Regions from separate parts of the Homo sapiens genome. Here all the other regions are linked to region 3. Evidence: promoter capture Hi-C in human tissues and cell types (Jung and others, 2019). All regions are on one chromosome and are shown on one strand. Each heading gives the region's core, a stretch centred on a gene start or on the middle of the fragment in contact. The rest is flanking DNA. Distances are from core to core; before and after follow the strand shown.

The links. The method cuts DNA at HindIII sites, captures the fragments that hold promoters and counts their contacts. A contact is called where the count stands out against the background at its distance.
Region 1: a fragment that was not itself captured here is called in contact with the fragment with the promoter of RAB15 in region 3 in 1 of the 25 tissues and cell types used here (spleen).
Region 2: a fragment that was not itself captured here is called in contact with the fragment with the promoter of RAB15 in region 3 in 1 of the 25 tissues and cell types used here (spleen).
Region 4: a contact is called between a fragment that was not itself captured here and the fragment with the promoter of RAB15 in region 3, in 2 of the 25 tissues and cell types used here (spleen and thymus).
Region 5: a fragment that was not itself captured here is called in contact with the fragment with the promoter of RAB15 in region 3 in 1 of the 25 tissues and cell types used here (spleen).

What each region holds. Positions count from the first base shown.
Region 1 is chr14:65,128,489-65,131,614 of GRCh38, reverse strand. No RefSeq gene overlaps it. Among named protein-coding and RNA genes, the nearest start is that of MAX, 28 kb to the right of the region's middle. The HindIII fragment of the contact is 4,433 bases long and covers 1-3,126 here.
Region 2 is chr14:64,775,527-64,778,988 of GRCh38, reverse strand. All of the region lies in intron 22 of SPTB (spectrin beta, erythrocytic), which reads left to right. Among named protein-coding and RNA genes, the nearest start is that of MIR7855, 8.4 kb to the left of the region's middle. RefSeq lists an enhancer at 3,161-3,462. The HindIII fragment of the contact is 3,892 bases long and covers 1-3,462 here.
Region 3 is chr14:64,971,084-64,974,410 of GRCh38, reverse strand. It overlaps RAB15 (RAB15, member RAS oncogene family), which reads left to right and starts at 2,075. Exons shown (of 7, transcript NM_001308154.2): 1 at 2,075-2,458. The coding sequence starts at 2,335. All of the region lies in intron 3 of CHURC1-FNTB (CHURC1-FNTB readthrough), which reads right to left. RefSeq lists a silencer at 1,913-2,282. The HindIII fragment of the contact is 7,421 bases long and covers 1-3,327 here.
Region 4 is chr14:64,793,205-64,796,640 of GRCh38, reverse strand. SPTB (spectrin beta, erythrocytic) reads left to right here. Exons shown (of 36, transcript NM_001355436.2): 11 at 1-84; 12 at 1,002-1,304; 13 at 2,024-2,174; 14 at 2,774-3,436. Among named protein-coding and RNA genes, the nearest start is that of MIR7855, 9.2 kb to the right of the region's middle. The HindIII fragment of the contact is 5,542 bases long and covers 1-3,436 here.
Region 5 is chr14:64,752,914-64,756,332 of GRCh38, reverse strand. SPTB (spectrin beta, erythrocytic) reads left to right here. Exons shown (of 36, transcript NM_001355436.2): 33 at 2,540-2,796. Among named protein-coding and RNA genes, the nearest start is that of MIR7855, 31 kb to the left of the region's middle. The HindIII fragment of the contact is 3,233 bases long and covers 105-3,337 here.

The sequences.
Region 1 (3,126 bases), core at 610-3,109, 160 kb before region 3:
TCCTCATACCATAAATGTATTAACTCATACTCTGTGAATGGTATGTTTATGATGTGGTTATTATCGTGTCATGAAACTATAACAGGCAGATTTTTACAAGACCCTGCCTTCCTTGTGTGTAGGGACCTCATGTGAGTGAATCATCACAGAATGATTCTGAAGTGGGTGGAGCCAAAGACCTGAGTGGCAAGGGCTTAAAGCAGGGGTCTCCAATCCCCAAGCCGTGGACTGGTGAGGGTCTGTGGCCTGTTAGGAACCGGGCCATAGAGCAGCAGGCGAGCATTACTGCCTGAGCTCTGCCTCCTGTCAGATCAGCTGCGGCATTAGATTCTCATAGGAGCGCGAACCCTATTGTGACCTGCCTGATGATATGAGGTGGAACAGTTACATCCTAAAACCATCCCCTACCCCACACCCATACGGTTTGGTTCTGTGTCCCCTCCCAAATATCACCTCCAATTGTAATCCCCACATGTCGAGGGAGGGACCTAGTGGGAGGTGATTGGATAATGGGGGTGGTTTCCCCCATGCTCTTCTCTTGACAGTGAGTGAGTGAATTCTGATGAAATCTGATTTTTGTTTGTTTGTTTTTGAGATGGAATCTCACTCTGTTGCCCAGGCTGGAGTGCAGTGGTGTGATCTCGGCTCACCACAACCTCTGCCTCCCAGGTGAAAGCGATTCCCCTGCCTCAGCCTCCCGAGTAGCTGGGACTACAGGCGCGTGCCACCACACCCGAATAATTTTTGTATTTTTAATAGAGAAGGGGTTTCACCATGTTGGCCAGGCTGGTCTCAAACTCCTGACCTTGTGATCTGCCCTCCTCGGCCTCCCAAAGTGCTGGGATTACAGGTGTGAGCCACCATGCCTGGCAGAAATCTGATGGTTTTAAAGTGTGGGGCACTTCCCCTCTTGCTGTCTCGCTCCCTCCTGCTGCCCTCTAAGACATGCTTTGCCTACCCTTTACCATTGGCCATTATTGTAAGTTTCTCAAGGCCTTCCAATCGTGCTTCATGTTAAGTGTATGAAACTCTGAGTCAATTACACATCTTTTCTTCATAAATTACCCAGTTTCAGGTAGTTCTTTATAGCAGTGTGAAAATGGACTAATACACCCCTGCACCCTCACCCCTACCCCCACTGTCCATGGAAAAATTGTCTTCCAAAAAACTGGTCCCCAGTGCCAAAAAGGTTGGGGACCACTGGCTTAAAGATATCCATCTGTATGGACACATACAGCTCACAGCTCAGCTGTGGACTAGGTATACTCTTATACTAACTGTACTAGATGAGAAAGACAGGCTTCTAGAAGTTCCAGAAGGTTGAGTTTTAGTGGAGCTGGAGTTTGGCCTTACGTGGAATGAGATGTGTCTGTTGGACCAGGTTCCCTGGACTAGGAAGCAATATTACACCCAGAGGCCACATCGCTGAGAGGCAGGCACAGGAGCCGGGAGCATAAGAAGCCCAGATGCCTGCAAAGCTGGGCTTTGAAGAGTTGACATGAATGCATTTCTTTTTTTTGAGACAGAGTCTCACTCTGTTGCCCAGGCTGGAGTGCAGTGGCGCAATCTCGCCTCACCACAACCTCCGCCTCCCGGGTTCAAGCAATTCTCCTGCCTCAACCTCCCGAGTAGCTGGGACTACAGGCACGTGCCACCACGCTGGGCTAATTTTTGTATTTTTAGTAGAGACGGGGTTTCACTCTGTTGGCCAGGCTGGTCTCAAACTCCTGACCTCGTGATCCACCTGCCTCAGCCTTCCAAAGTGCTGGGATTACAGGCATGAGCCACCGCGCCGGGCAAAATGAATGCATTTCAAGAGCAGGGAATCTGAGAGCCATGTACTGATCTCAGATATTTTCACAGAATTTCTTAGGATAAGAAACCTAATTGTGTTTATGTTGCTACATTCGGAGGTGTTATTTTCTTTAGATATTTCCTTCATTTTTTATAAAATGTCTTTTGTTTATATCAACTTTTTTGGCTCTATTAAGGGAGTTTAGCCTATGCCTTTTTTTATATTTTGAGACACAATTTTGCTCGTCACCCAGGTTGGAGTGCAATGGTGTGATCTGGGCTCACCACAACCTCTGCCTCCCAGGTTCAAGCAATTCTCCTGTCTCAGCCTCCCAAGTATTTGAGATTACAGGAGTCCACCACCATGCCTGGCTGATTTTTGTATTTTTATTAGGCCCGGCCGGCCTATGCTTTCTTTGGAGTGAACAGGGCCACATTTTATCCCTAGGTCCCTGAGCAGTAGAGAAAGGAGGAGTGAAAAATGAGAGAAGCTAAAGGACAGGCCGGGCGCAGTGGCTCACACCTGTAAATCCCAGCACCCTGGGAGGCCGAGGCGGGTGGATCACCTGAGATTAGGAGTTTAAGACCAGCCAGGCCAACATAGTGAAACCTCATCTCTACAAAAATACAAAAATTAGCCGGGCATGATGGCGGGTGCCTGTAATCCAAGCTACCTGGGAGGCCAAGGAGGGAGAATCTCTTGAACCCATGAGGCAGAGGTTGCAGTGAGCTGAGATGCGCAACTGCACTCCAGCCTGGATGACAGAGTGAGACTCTGTCTCAAAAAAAAAAAAAAAAGAAAAAGAAGAAGTTAAGGGACAGACAAAAACCCAGGGAGAAACAGCCTGTCCTGCCAGCAGAGCATCTTGCTGTAGCCTCCCACATAGCTCAAAACTCAGAACCAAGAGCCCACTCCCCCATTCTGTGAAGACAGCCTTCTTCCTGCCTCCCGGGACCCTCCCTTCTTCAAAAGTCATCTCACAGCCAAGACCTCTCCAGTTGTGCCCCCTTTGCTCTCAGTCTCCCCACATCCTCCAGTATCCATCTTTCTTCTCATTTCCTCAAATGCGAAGTCTTCCTTATAGCTGCAGCTTGCCTTGATTTTTGTATTTCCTCCATGTTGTTTTTACAAGTATTCTATAATATATATAAATAATTTTTACCTTGTCTGATTAGAGTTGAAGTTCTTTGAAGGTGAATAGCTTCTATCTCCTTTGTAAGTCTCTGCCATTTCATTTATGTTAAGCAGTTTTTCAAAAGTAAAATCTCTTTATTGTTTTTTTAAAATGTATCACTGTAAAAATAACAACAACAACAAAACTCCAAACAGTA
Region 2 (3,462 bases), core at 486-2,985, 200 kb after region 3:
GCAGGTTTTTGTGATTACAGAGCAAATTCTGGGAGGATCACAGAGGAGGGGAGGTAGTTGGGGATTCAGGGCCATTCAGCCTCCATCAGGCACAGGTGAATGCAGGATCTCGGGGGCCTGGCCTGGAGGTTGATGTGCTTCAGTAGCTGTGTATTCGGTGTATCCAGTGGTCTGCCTGAGAGGAGGGCAGTAACTCCTGATCTCTCTCCCACAACACTGCCTTGCCCCTCTTCCAGGGCTGAGCTTGGCATGTGTGGTGTCCTTGGGGTAAGTAGGCCCCATTTCTCTCGACATATGAGGATACTTGTGGGGCTCAAATTCCATTAGGAAGCCACTAACTTTGGACTCTGAGCCCTTGGAGCAAACATCCCTCTGCTTTTTGGCACTCGCTTAGCCCTGATTGGGAACTCCTGTGGCCCTGGTCAGGATCCTGGATGTGAGCAGATGCCAAGCACTCCCTCTTGGGTCAGGGCTGCAGTGGGAGCCTGAATCATGTAAGGAAGCTGGCTGTGTGGGGTCGCAGCGGCCAGGGGAATGGCCACAGACCCTTCTTGGACAGAGAGACCCTCCCTCTGCATGCTCTCTGGGTCAGCAAGGAGAGCCCAGGAACTTAGATCCCAGATAAAAGTGACATGTCCCAGAGTGCCCGGTTAGTATTGCAGCTCCTTGAGGAAGGAAGGTCATGGCAGACAGCACTCCCTTCCCCCAGCTTGGCAGCAGCTGACATCTGCTCACAGGACCATGTGAGCCCAGCAGCAGTGCAGAGGCCTAGATTATATTCAGAGAAGTTTCTTCAAAGCTGCCTTAGGCCCTTTGCTTCTGGTTGACATGATCTAGTCGCAGAGGCTCCAGCAGCCACACGCAGGGACCTGGGCTAGAAGATGATAGAAATCTAGCCTCAGTTAATGCCACAACCTTCAGCTAAAGGTGGAAGGCTGGTAGGACATGGTATCCTTGGGACCTCAGTTTCCTTAATTGTAAAATGAGCCAACTCTAGTCTTTCCAACACTAGGATTTTTGATTCTATGCAGCCTCTGTAAGTGTTATTGTTCAAAGGTTTTTAACTCCCCTGGCTGGCAGTTGCTATTTCGGGAAAAGGGCAAGACAAATACGGATGGGGTTCCCCTAACCAAGAAGGGAAAGGCAGCCTCTTGGGACAGCGTGACTGCCCTAATGAAGACTATTTTAGGCTCACCTGGCTAAACCATAAATCCAATTTTATCATTTCCTCACCTAAAACCCTCTGTTGCAATGGTTGTCAAACTCCAATATGCAACTCCTTTAACAAGCCTTCTGGGTGAGTTTACACGACTTAACCAGGTGCCACCCCCAGATCCCTACTGCATCAAGCTCTGGGGGTAGAGCCTAATAATTTGCATTTCCAACAAGATCCTAGGTGATGCCGATGCTGCTGGTTCAGGACTGCACTTTGGGGACCACTGTTCCCAGGGCTATTCATTGCAATTAGAACAAATTCCACAAGGTAGTACATGAAGGGCTCTCACCCCTGGCTGTACACTCACATCACCTAGGGAACTTTTAGACAGATGAATGCCCAGGTCTCACCTCAGATCAATTAGGATCTCTGGGGGTAGGCCCCTAGCTGCATCTGTTTCCCTGGATTATTCAGTGGGCAATCAGGATTAAGAACCACTCTTGCCTGACCTGACCCCTGCCTGCTTCTGAAACTCAGCTCTTCTCACTTTGCCCTCCTTCACAGTATTCCAGCTCTTCTGGCCCTCTCTGTGGCCTCAGACGGTCCCAGCTCATGTCCACCCCAGAGCCTTTGCACTTGTTCAGTCCTCTTGCCAGGAACACTCAACCCCAGATCTCTGTGTGGTTGCCTCCCTCCCGTCATTCATGTCATGGTCAAGTTTCGTATCCTCAGAGAGGCCCTCCCTGACTCCCTTAGCTAAAGTGGCTCCTGCCACATCGCAGCAGACATTCTCCATCCCACTGTTGTCTTTTCCTCGTAGCCCCCAGGGAGGAAGGCCCAGCCTTTGTTTATTCATTTATTTGCATGTTTACCTTCTATTTCCTCTACCAGGTTGTAAGCTTTAAAGTGCAGGGATTTTCATTTCTCTTGTTTCTATATTGTCCCTATTACCTAGACCAGGGTCTGGTACATAGAAAAGAACTTAATACATAGTTGTTGAATGAATGAAGACAGGGAAGAAGACTTTAAATGTAAGTACCCTGCACAGATACTAGAAAGTAATTGGTTAAAAAGGAAGAAATACCCTTTTAGGCCGGGCGCAGTGGTTCACACCCGTAATCCCAGCACTTTGGGAGGCCGAAGCGGGTGGATCGCCTGAGCCCAGGAGTTTGAGACCAGCCTGGGCAACATGGCAAAAGCCCATCTCTACAAAAAATACAAAAAATTAGCCAGATGTGGTGGTACATACCTGTAGTCCAAGCTACTTGGGAGGCTGAGGTGGGAGAATCATCTGAGCCTGGGAAGTTGAGGCTCAGTGAGCTGATTGTGCCACTGCACTCCAGCCTGGGTGACTAGAGTGAGACCCTATCTTAAAAAAAAGAAATTAATTTTTAGGGCACCATGCAGAGGTCATAAGATCTCAGAGTAAACAAGCAAATGGAGCTGAAAACATGGGTTGTTTGAATGCAACTGCAGAGACTATAGGAAATTGTAAAAATTGAGGTTCTGAGCATAAAGTGTAAAAATGCATTTCAGCAGGTTATGTGACTTGTAGATGTGGTTATTTTGTGCATATTTTAAATGCTGGCCATCACTGTGCTGCTCATGTGGGCTGCTCTTGCCCCTGCCTTCCAATTTTAAAGGCCACAGGAAAATTATATAGAGAGGGAAGAAACAGGTAGTGAGGTATATGGAGCTCAGGAGCCCACACACCAGCAGCAGCTAGCCCAGTCTTTAGGACCCAGAAAACAAGTAACACGTGTCAGGGCCTCCTGAAGAAAAAGGTGACCAGCCACCAGGGTGGGAGGAAGAGGCTGTGTTCATGACCAAAGGCTCAAACAGGGACTAATGCAAAGCTCACAAAAATATGAGAAATAGAAGTAGGGAAAAACAAAAGCTGAGACTGTAAGCAAGGGGCTGCTGTCACCTGTTCTTTTAGATGGAAGGCAAAAACTGTGCCCACCTGAGCTGCTGGGTTGGGCGTATCCTGCGTAAATGATCCTGCATAAATCCTGCAAAAGCTGTTAGAATAAGGTATCAAAAAGGCCATTTTTCTTTTCCTTCCAACACATACACCTAAGGAATCAAGCTCTGCTGAAGCACAGGAAGATAGGGGACAGTCAAGAGCACAGGCTGCCAGGTCAGGTGGAGCTGTGTTCAACTCCGGCTCTGCCACTGAGTGACTTCACTGCTGCATGCTGGTCTCCACATGCTTATCTCAGCAGGCCACCTGAGGGTGCAAGAATGGTGCACATGAGGTGCTTAGCAGCCCGCAAGAGGTCATTGGTAGTTCTTATCGCCATCAC
Region 3 (3,327 bases), core at 826-3,325:
CCTCAGCCTCCCAAGTAGCTGGGACTACAGGCGCCCGCCACCACGCCGGGCTAATTTTTTGTATTTTTAGTAGAGACGGGGTTTCACCATGTTAGCCAGGATGGTCTCCTGACCTCGTGATCCGCCCGCCTCGGCCTCCCAAAGTGCTGGGATTACAGGCGTGAGCTACCGCGACGGCCTGTCCTTTCCATGCATTATCTTATTTCATCTTTCCAGCAATCCTGTAAGGTAGTCACTCTAAATATCCTATTTTGAGATGAGGAAACTGAGTCACAGGGGGGTTCAGTAATGTGCTCAAGATTGCACAGCTGGTGAGTGGTGACACTGGGACTGGAACCCAAGTGTGCCTTACTCCAGAGCCCTTGGCATGCACCTGAAACCCCATGTAAGCCCACTGTGGAGACGCGCACCTCGAAATAATGGAATCCACTACATCAGTTCCTTTAGCTTTCTGTGTAATCAGAGTAGCTAGCAGGCTCGGGATTTCGCCCCCCGGCTTTTTTTTTTTTTTTTTTTTGAGACAGAGTTTTGCTCTTGTTGCCCAGGCTGGAGTGCAATGGCGCAATCTCGGCTCACCGCAACCTTCGCCTCTCAGGTTCAAGCAATTCTCCTGCCTCAGCCTCCCGAGTAGCTGGGATTACAGGCACCGGCCACCACGCCCAGCTAATTTTTTTATATTTTTAGTAGAGATGGGGTTTCACCATGTTGGCCAGGCTGGTCTTGAACTTTTCCCCTCTTATTATAATTCAGACACTTAACCTGAAATATACCTTTTCAAATGAAGTAAATGGGCTTACCACTTTCCTTGACCTACTATTGAAAAATACATTCTCCATCCAATATTCAGCCTGAAAACAGGTATGTACATATATACTTTTCATTGCTTTTTTTTTTTTTTTTTTGAGACAAGGTCTCCCTCTGTTGCGCAGGCTGGAGTGCAGTGTCATGATCTCGGCTCACTGCAGCCTTCCCCTAATGGGTTCAAGCAATCCTCCCACCTCAGCCTCTCAAGCCTGGGATTACAGGCGAGCCACCGTGCCCAGCTAATTTTTTTTTATTTTTAGTAGAGACTGGGTTTCACTACATTGGCCAGGCTGGTCTCCAGCTCCTGACCTCAAAGTGATCTGCCCGCCTCAGCCTCCCAAAGTACTGGGATTACAGGCATGAGCCAACGCGCCTAGCCTTTCATTGCTTTTTAAAGACCTAATAGGCTAGACTTTGCTCTCCCTCAATACTCGTTGGTAGGGATAGGCAATTTTCTCAACTCCGGAGAGCATTCATTTGCCTCTCTCCGGTGCTAACACATTCAGTGGTAGGAAACTGGATCTTGAACAAGGGCCATTCATTCTTTGGTGCCACTGGCTATACCACAGAGAAATTTAGGGGTCTGAAACAATACATTGGTCACCTGGGCACCTATCCTAAGCACCTTAGAGGGAAAACGGAGACTTGCCCGCACACCTCTAAAGGATTTTGCACTTGGAGATGTTCTTATGGCCATCTATCTTTTCACCCTGGTGGAGGCCGTGAATAGGCATTTTCCCCATTTAAAGAAAAAATGGGGACGGGGGAGGGCCGTGACACAGTCACACAGGTAAGGGGCAGCCAGATGGCAGGGAGGGGGAATTCCACCCACACTCTCGGGGACTCATGGAGACGGGTGTTCGAATCCAGATCCTGCTCAAGGCCTTCCTACCTCGGGTGAGCCCAGCTGAGGTACCAGCCACTGGGGAGCCCGGCCAGATCCTGCAGATGCAGGGTGCCACGGCGGGCGGAATTACCGGCGCCAGACTTGGGGTGGGATATGGGGAGAAGTGGTGAGCCCGGAAAGCGGAGCACGGTAGAAGTGGGCTGGGTGGGGGCTCACCTCAACTCCCCCATTCGGAGCGTCCGCGGAAAAACGAAAACGTTCCCCCGCCCCGGGCAGGAAGGGGTTGGGAGGGGGGGCTGGCGCCCCGCCCCAGCGTCGCCTGCTCGATGGGGTCCCGCTCTCCTGCGCGCGCTCCCCGCCCCCTCTCTCCGGGGCGGCGGCGGCGGCGCAGGGGAAGGGGCGGGCAGGGGCCGCCGCCGGTTTCTCCTCCCACCGCCTCGCGCCAGCCCAGCCGAGCCGAGCCGAGCCGAGCGGGCGCCGCGCCGGGCTCCCGCCGCAGCCGCGCTTCCCGGCACCCAGCGAGCGAGTGGGCAGGCGGGCGGGCGAGGCAGCCGCGGGGGCCGGGCCCGGCGTCCTCCTCGCCGCCCGCAGCGTCCCCGGGCGGGCGCGGGCCGCGATGGCAGCGGCGGAGCAGGGCTGAGCCCGCTGCCCGCCCGCAGTTCCCGGCCCCGCTGGCCCCAGTCATGGCGAAGCAGTACGATGTGCTGTTCCGGCTGCTGCTGATCGGGGACTCCGGGGTGGGCAAGACCTGCCTGCTGTGCCGCTTCACCGACAACGAGTTCCACTCCTCGCACATCTCCACCATCGGTAAGGGGCGGTGGCCCGGGGCGCCCCTCCCTCCCCGCCCGCGGCCCCTTTCCCCGCCGCCCCCGTCCCCAGCTGGGGAGGAATTGCCAGCCCCTCCGGCTGGAGGCGGTGGCGCCGGAGGCCGGAGTCCGGGATAAATCTCGGGGTGAGCATAGGTTTTGGCAGGTGAGGGTGTCCCTGCTGCCTGCCGTCCGGACCAGGGGTGGGGTCTCCCGCCTCTTGCCGGGAAGCCTTCCGTCCCATCAAACCGAGAAACCGGGGGTGAGGGGAGCTGGTGTAGGCCTGGGTACCCCGAGCTGGGGTAGCAAGAATCGTAGCCGCTGGAATAACATCCCCACACCCCCAGGGGGAGGGGAAGTAAAGCTTCTGCTACGGAAAAGGGGGTCAGGGTGGAGACCGGAGTCACTGAGGCGCCCTTGGTTCTGTGGTGACCCAAGGTGGAGCCGGCGGGGGGCGAGGGGGGGAAGAGAGGACGTACGGAGGGGCCACAGGGATCGAGTTTCCAGGGCAGAGTTGGGAAGGTAAGCCGCAAGGTGGGACACCTGGGGGAGGACACAGATAGGGTGAGGAGCCCCTGCGCCTGGGAAGAGGAGACATCTGTTCTGAGGGAGGCTAAAGAGGATGGAGGAGTGTCAGGAATACCTGCCCAGACCAAGGGGTCAGAAGGCAGGCAGGACCCGCCTGAGGGCATCTCTCATCTGGCAGTGCTGGAGCCTGTGGTTAGAGGGACAAGACCCGGTGGCATCCCAGACAGCACTATGATGGGGTCACTTATTCTAGGAATGGGTCCATGGCCTCCCCTCTGAGACAGTCAGTCTCCCGCTTCTAGGCTGTGAGGGGCCCCCTCCCTGAGAAGTCTGAGTAGAGGG
Region 4 (3,436 bases), core at 1-2,500, 180 kb after region 3:
CTAGAGCAACTGGCCCGGCGCTTTGACCGGAAGGCCGCAATGAGAGAGACCTGGCTCAGTGAAAACCAGCGCCTCGTGGCCCAGGTAATGAGGGACATGCTTTGGGTGACAGGAGAGGGGACATTCTTCAGAGCCCCCAGCTCTTGGCTGGGCTGGAGTCCAAGCTGGCTTCTCACAGCCTCTCCTCGTGCCTTGCAGCACAGCTCCCCCGTGATCCAGTGGATCAAGATTTGCATCTGGGGAGGAGCTCTCCAGGATTTATTAAATCTCATTTTTAGGAAAGAGCCTTGGAGTCTAGAACTGGCCGCTGAAGTTGTCTTATGTGGGCCTGTAGTGTCAACTACAGCTGGGGTTTCAGTTGATGTTAAATTGTGGTTCTTGGGGGATATGGTAAAATCACAGACTGCACCTTGTCTGTGTCAGGCATGCCTTTTGGACTCTGGTCTCTGGTGCTGTGACATAATTCTAGCTAAGAATTGACCCCAGGGCTGATTCTTCATCAGAGCATCTGTTCCCTCTCACTTAAAGCTTGGAATCAAATTAGATTCTGTCCAGAAAGGGGGCAACAAGTATTCTGAGAGCACTGGAGAGTGTATGCGCACCCCAGATAGCATGTGAATAAACCATCTGTTTGCTGGTGCATGGGTTTCCGAGTGAGAAGCAGCCCCTTCCTGCCCCAAATCCAACAGGTCCACTCGAGGCATGTGGGGAGTGCCAGCAGGCTGCCAAGGGGCTCCATTAGTAACACGCAGGCTGCATCTCCCACGCGGGTGGCACGGGGAGTAAAATCATGAACTTCTCTTAGAGTCTCTTGTGAGACATTAATTTTTGGAACTTGGGTCTGATAAGACAGGCTGCAAAAGTAAGGCAGAACTAGCTGCTTCTTGGGAATGTGCTTTCCCATCTAGCACTGGTTCTGAAGGGAGCTGCCCTGTCCCTGAGTTTGGGGATGAGCCCCTGGGTGTCTGACTGAGCTGCCTGTTTTTCTCCCGGTGGGGCAGGATAACTTTGGGTATGACCTGGCAGCTGTGGAGGCCGCCAAGAAGAAGCATGAGGCCATCGAGACCGACACGGCTGCCTACGAGGAGCGGGTGAGAGCCCTGGAGGACCTGGCTCAGGAGCTGGAGAAAGAGAACTACCATGACCAGAAGCGCATCACGGCCCGCAAGGACAATATACTGCGCCTATGGAGCTACCTGCAGGAGCTGCTGCAGTCCCGGCGCCAGAGGCTCGAGACCACCCTGGCACTGCAGAAGCTCTTCCAGGACATGCTGCACAGCATCGACTGGATGGATGAGATCAAGGTGGGCCCTGGGGGCCGCCCCCGCCATGCCCTGCAGTGCTCACCTTGGGTCTCAGTGGCCCTGCAGTTAGCATAGGCTTCCTTAGACACCTCCCAGCCAGTCATATCTCTGAGTCAAAATAGAGAAACTGAGGCAGCAAAGTGTCTAGCTGCACCTGCCTCTCTGCCTCTTGGTCCACTCTGCTCCAGCAGGTGATACCAGCCCAGGTCCATGGTACCCTGGTGACCGAGAAATCTTGGGTTTGTGGCAGCACCGGTGCCAACCTTCAGGGCCTTGAAGAGACAGACATTAATCAGGAACCTGGAGAATCAAGCTCTTAGTAATTACAATTTGACTCTGGTTAGAATCCAGACCTCCCAGCATGAGGGCAACCTCTCCTCTCTCTCTGCCGCAGTGGGTCTCAGCTGAGGACACACATCAGACTGCCCCTGGAGCTTTGTGAAAATACACATGGCCAGGCCCCAACCCTGAGACCGATGCAGTAGATGAGTGTGGGGCTTGAGCATCTGTAAGATGTTCTATGGATGATGCTGATGGGCACCCCCAGTAGGCACTCTCCCTCTGGAGCTTCTTCCATCCTCAGCAGCAGCCCTTTTCTGGCTGCATTTGGCTCACCCTTGCTCAGATTACTAGAGACATGCCCTTTGCAGGGGTCTCTTCTCCTAATGTGTAGGTCTCTTCACTTCTCCTCATTTCCTTTCTGCTGTTCTCTTTGCCAGGCTCACCTCTTGTCTGCCGAGTTTGGGAAGCACTTGTTGGAGGTTGAAGACCTGCTACAGAAGCACAAGTTGATGGAAGCTGACATCGCCATCCAAGGGGACAAAGTGAAGGCCATCACCGCAGCCACCCTGAAGTTCACCGAGGGGAAAGGTGAGACCAAGTCTGTCTCCCCTTTTGAGGCTTCCAATGCCAGAGCCTCACCTCTGGCCTAACAACCCAACTTGGATAAATCTCCTGGAACCAACTTTAAAGTTCTGTTACTTTCATCAAGTAATGGTCCAAGAAAGAAGCTTGAGGGACCAGCCAAATTCTCTAGAGAGCAGGCAACTGCTTCGGTAACCTATAATCACCAAGGAGGCACCCTCTGTCCTTCATTCTCCTTGCTAGTTCAAGTTATGGCTGAGACAATTTAGGTTTCCAGATTCTTGTTTTAAATAAGAGACCTCACTGCATCTTTCAAGAATGACCTTGAAATTTTTTTAATTAATTTAAAAATAATTTTATGTTGTACATTTCTATTAAGAACTAACCCCACTTTTTATCTTCCTTAACCCTGAAGTTCAGTGGGAAATAATTATAAAGAATCTGTCCACCCTCTGAGCAACTGGGACCCCCCTGCATCCAACCCCAAAGCCCCAGTGACATGGCAGCTTCAGGGTTGTGTAGTTCCAACCTAGCAGCTTATCTGAAGCGTGCCCATAAATGAAGCCCATCCCCCACTTTGTCCTCCTTCCCCCTATTTCTTCCAGGGTACCAGCCTTGTGACCCCCAGGTCATCCAGGACCGCATCAGCCACTTGGAGCAGTGCTTTGAGGAGCTGAGCAACATGGCAGCTGGGCGGAAGGCCCAACTGGAGCAGTCCAAACGACTCTGGAAGTTCTTCTGGGAGATGGATGAGGCTGAGAGCTGGATCAAGGAGAAGGAGCAGATCTATTCTTCCCTGGACTATGGCAAAGACCTGACCAGTGTGCTCATCTTACAGCGCAAGCACAAGGCCTTTGAGGATGAGCTCCGTGGGCTGGATGCTCACCTGGAGCAGATCTTCCAGGAGGCTCATGGCATGGTTGCGCGCAAGCAGTTTGGGCACCCGCAGATCGAGGCCCGCATAAAGGAGGTGTCGGCACAGTGGGACCAGCTGAAGGACCTGGCTGCCTTCTGCAAGAAGAACCTCCAGGATGCTGAGAACTTTTTCCAGTTCCAGGGCGATGCGGATGACCTGAAGGCTTGGCTGCAAGACGCCCACCGGCTGCTCTCTGGTGAAGATGTGGGGCAGGACGAAGGGGCCACGCGGGCCCTGGGGAAAAAGCACAAGGACTTCCTGGAGGAGCTGGAGGAGAGCCGTGGGGTGATGGAGCACCTGGAGCAGCAGGCCCAGGGATTCCCCGAAGAGTTTCGGGATTCCCCAGATGTGA
Region 5 (3,419 bases), core at 472-2,971, 220 kb after region 3:
CTCCCAAAGTGTTGGGATTACAGGCGTGAGCTACCATGCCCGGCCTGGGAGTTTATTGAAGTAGACTCCAAGAGAGGAGCCAGCAGGTCCGCCTGGGAAGCAGCAGTATTCACAGCAAGAGTGAGGTAGCAGCAGAGACAATACACTCTGAAAGATGAGGCAGAGCAGGCTGCTCGAAAGATGAGCCAGCAACTAGAGAGTTCTGCCTTGCGGTTTTTATTAGGTCACACTCTATTTAGGTTCCTGCCTCTGTCTCAAGTCTCCACCTTTGTCTAATTTCCTGCCTCTATCTTATGTCTCCATCTTTTCGCCCCACCTAGTTCCCGCCCCAGGTTTGTGGGACTCTCCCTTACTGTCAGCTGATGAACCTGCAGGGGCGGGTGTCGGATATGAATCCTATCGAATGGTGATGTTGCTAATTACTGCCACTCCAGGAAGGGTGTATATTGGTATTTATTGCACGTGCATATCTCGTAGGAATTTCTCCTTTGCTTTCTTTCCCTCCTTAGCATGCAGCTGGCTACATTCCCACAGGTTAACTGCAGAGTGATGACTGGGCATCTTAAGGGGTGTCTTGGGGTGTTCCTTCCTGCATAGATATTTCCCCTCCTCTCTGCTCATATCTAGGGTGAATGTTTTGGATGGTCTCTGGGGTGTGAGACTTTCCAGACCTCCCTTTCTCAGAGGCTTTCCCACCTGCTCATATTTATCTGCCTACTCCGACAGTATAACCTTGGGCAAGTCACTTGACCTCTCTGAGCACTGGTTTTCTCATTATAGATCGAAAGCATTAGACTAAGTCAGTGGTTTCCAAACTTTCCCAGCCACATAACCCTTTCTTTAAATGAAATCTTACTGGATCCCTACCATGTAACCTGTTTACTGAACAGTCCTAATTTGATGAGATACAAACATGACCAGTTTTATCTTTCTTGCAACCACTGCCTTCCAACGTCTCCATTGAGCCCCCCTTCCCATTCCTAAGGCCACCTCAGGCAGACCCTGGTCACTTTCAGTGGATAAAAAGTCTGCCCAGTTGTTTCAGTTTAAAGCTTCGATCTGATGTCCAACATGGGGCCCACATCCTCCCATCCTCCATCCTCTGTTTCGGGTTTGCCCCATAGTCTAAAGGATTCAGACCAGGGAGGAGAACATGGTCTGCTCTCTCCTGGCTCCTTCCCTCTCCTCCCCAGCACTCTTCTGGACCTCTGTCTTCAGCTGTTGGGGCAGGGAGGAGGGAGCAGAAAAAGAACCTTTTCTGACCTCCTGGCTGAAGATGTCCTTGGTGCTTCAGGCATCCAGCTGCTTGGGGGCCTTCCTACCTCTTGCTGAAAGGTGTTTAGCAGTCAGGTCTTTGGGACCGGGTCCTGGCCAGATGGCTCCAGTGAGGCTGCCTTCCTTGGTGCTCACTTGGCACGGAGGAGACCCACCCATTCTTGCCCCACCTGGCAATGGGAGGCCGCCCGCTGCTGCCCCAATCTGTCCTGCCCTCTCTTTCTTCTGCCCCAACAGGCAAAAGGGCAGATCAGCAAGGTCTAGCATAAGGAGATGCCCAGCCAGGGAATGGCAGGTCAGCTTCCCCTTCTCGTGGGCACCTGTATGTCATACAGTGAGTGGCACCATTGGAGGCCCCTCCCTTGACTTGGGCAGGGGCCAGGCATCCCCAGGTCTCCACAGGGAGGTGCAGGGAGGTAAAGACCACAGCAGTTCCCCAAGGCTGTGCCTCCTTACGAGGGGGATTCTCAACTCCTGCTGAACATTAGATCCCATGAAATGCTCAGTAAGAGATACCAATGTGCCGACCCCCGGGGCCAGTTAACTCAGCATCTTGAGATGGAGCCTGAGAATGTTTCTTTTGAAAGCACCTGAGGTGATTGCGGAAGGCAGCCAGGGTTAGGAACCACTGCCCTGTCCAAAAAGTTCCCATCAAATGATGGAGAAAGGACCTGTTAGACCTGCTGATGGCCAGGGAGGGTCTGGGTTCTCCCTTTGTAAGGTGGCAGGGGCGGGCAGACTTAGGACCTGGTACCCTTAGTTTTAGGGCTTTAGGCACAATTTGAAAGTACCAGAAGAGTTCCCATTCAACATTCTACTATAAGTGGTTGCCGAACTTGTCTTAGCAGCAGAACTTTCCTCATACGAGTGTCTGGCTGCAGCAAGGGGAGGGGCCAGAGCTTTGCCAGCAGCATTGGAACCTGCCCCCCCTCACACCCCTTTAATGAAATAATCACTCAGGCCCCTTTGGCTCACTCTGAGAACCTTCCGTTGCTATGTTACATTGGAGAGAGGGGGCCACCCTGCAGCTCTCTGAAGGGAGAATGGGGTGGAAATGGAGCCAGAAGCACAGGCAGAGTAGAGAAGCAAGGGGGCACCCATAGCAGGTTGTGGGAGAGCCAGGGTGGGCCAGGAGGTGGGAGTAGAAAGGAAGTAGGCTTGGGGGTGTGGAGAGGGTGGCTGCTGACCTCCCAATTTTGCTGAGAACAGCCATCTCTAAGCCAGAGTACCCAGAAAGGTGTGCTCCTCCCTATGCCCTGAGCAGGGGGAAGAAGAGGGAACGTGGCCTCAGAACCTGCAGCAGCCACCACCGCCGGGTCAGCACAAGGATGGGCAGAAATCCACTGGGGATGAGAGGCCCACCACGGAGCCCCTCTTTAAGGTCCTAGATACGCCTCTGAGCGAGGGTGATGAGCCCGCAACGCTGCCGGCCCCGCGGGACCATGGGCAGAGTGTGCAGATGGAAGGCTACCTGGGCCGCAAGCATGACCTGGAGGGGCCCAACAAGAAGGCTTCCAACAGGTGAGTGCGGGAGAGGCTGCTGGCTGAGGGTAGGTTGGGCAGCTCTCAGGGATCTCTCTGCTAGCAGAGCCTTGGTGACATGGGCATGTGCTGGGGGAGGGGTGCCTTCTGCCTTGGCCTGTGAGAGCTCCTAGACACCCCTCTGGGCCAGCCCCGAGGGCTACTTGGCATGATGGGAAAGCCTATCTCCAGTTCTGGTCCTGAATTCAAATCCTGTGTCTTCATGCAAGTTACTCAACCTCTTTAAATCGGTTTCCCCATTTGGAAGGAGAGGATGAGAACAGTATGTCTTTTCACTACAGATACTGTTCCTGGCACACAGTAGGCACTTGGTGAACACTAGCTGTTATTATCCTATTATCCCAGGGCTAGGGATAGGTAGCTCTAAAGGTTAGGTAGGTCTTGGCACTAACAACATCCTTGTTCGAGCCCCGCTTTTTACCAGTCTAGGCCTCGGTGTCCTCAGCTGTAAAATGGGAGTGATGGGGATGGGGCATGGCCTAGTTGCCCCCCAGAGGTCCCTTCTAATGCTGTCATCTGGTGACTCTATGACCCCGAGAACTGACTCAAAGGCTGCGTCCTTTCCTGACCCTGAAACAGTCATGTCCTTGGGTTTGGTCTAT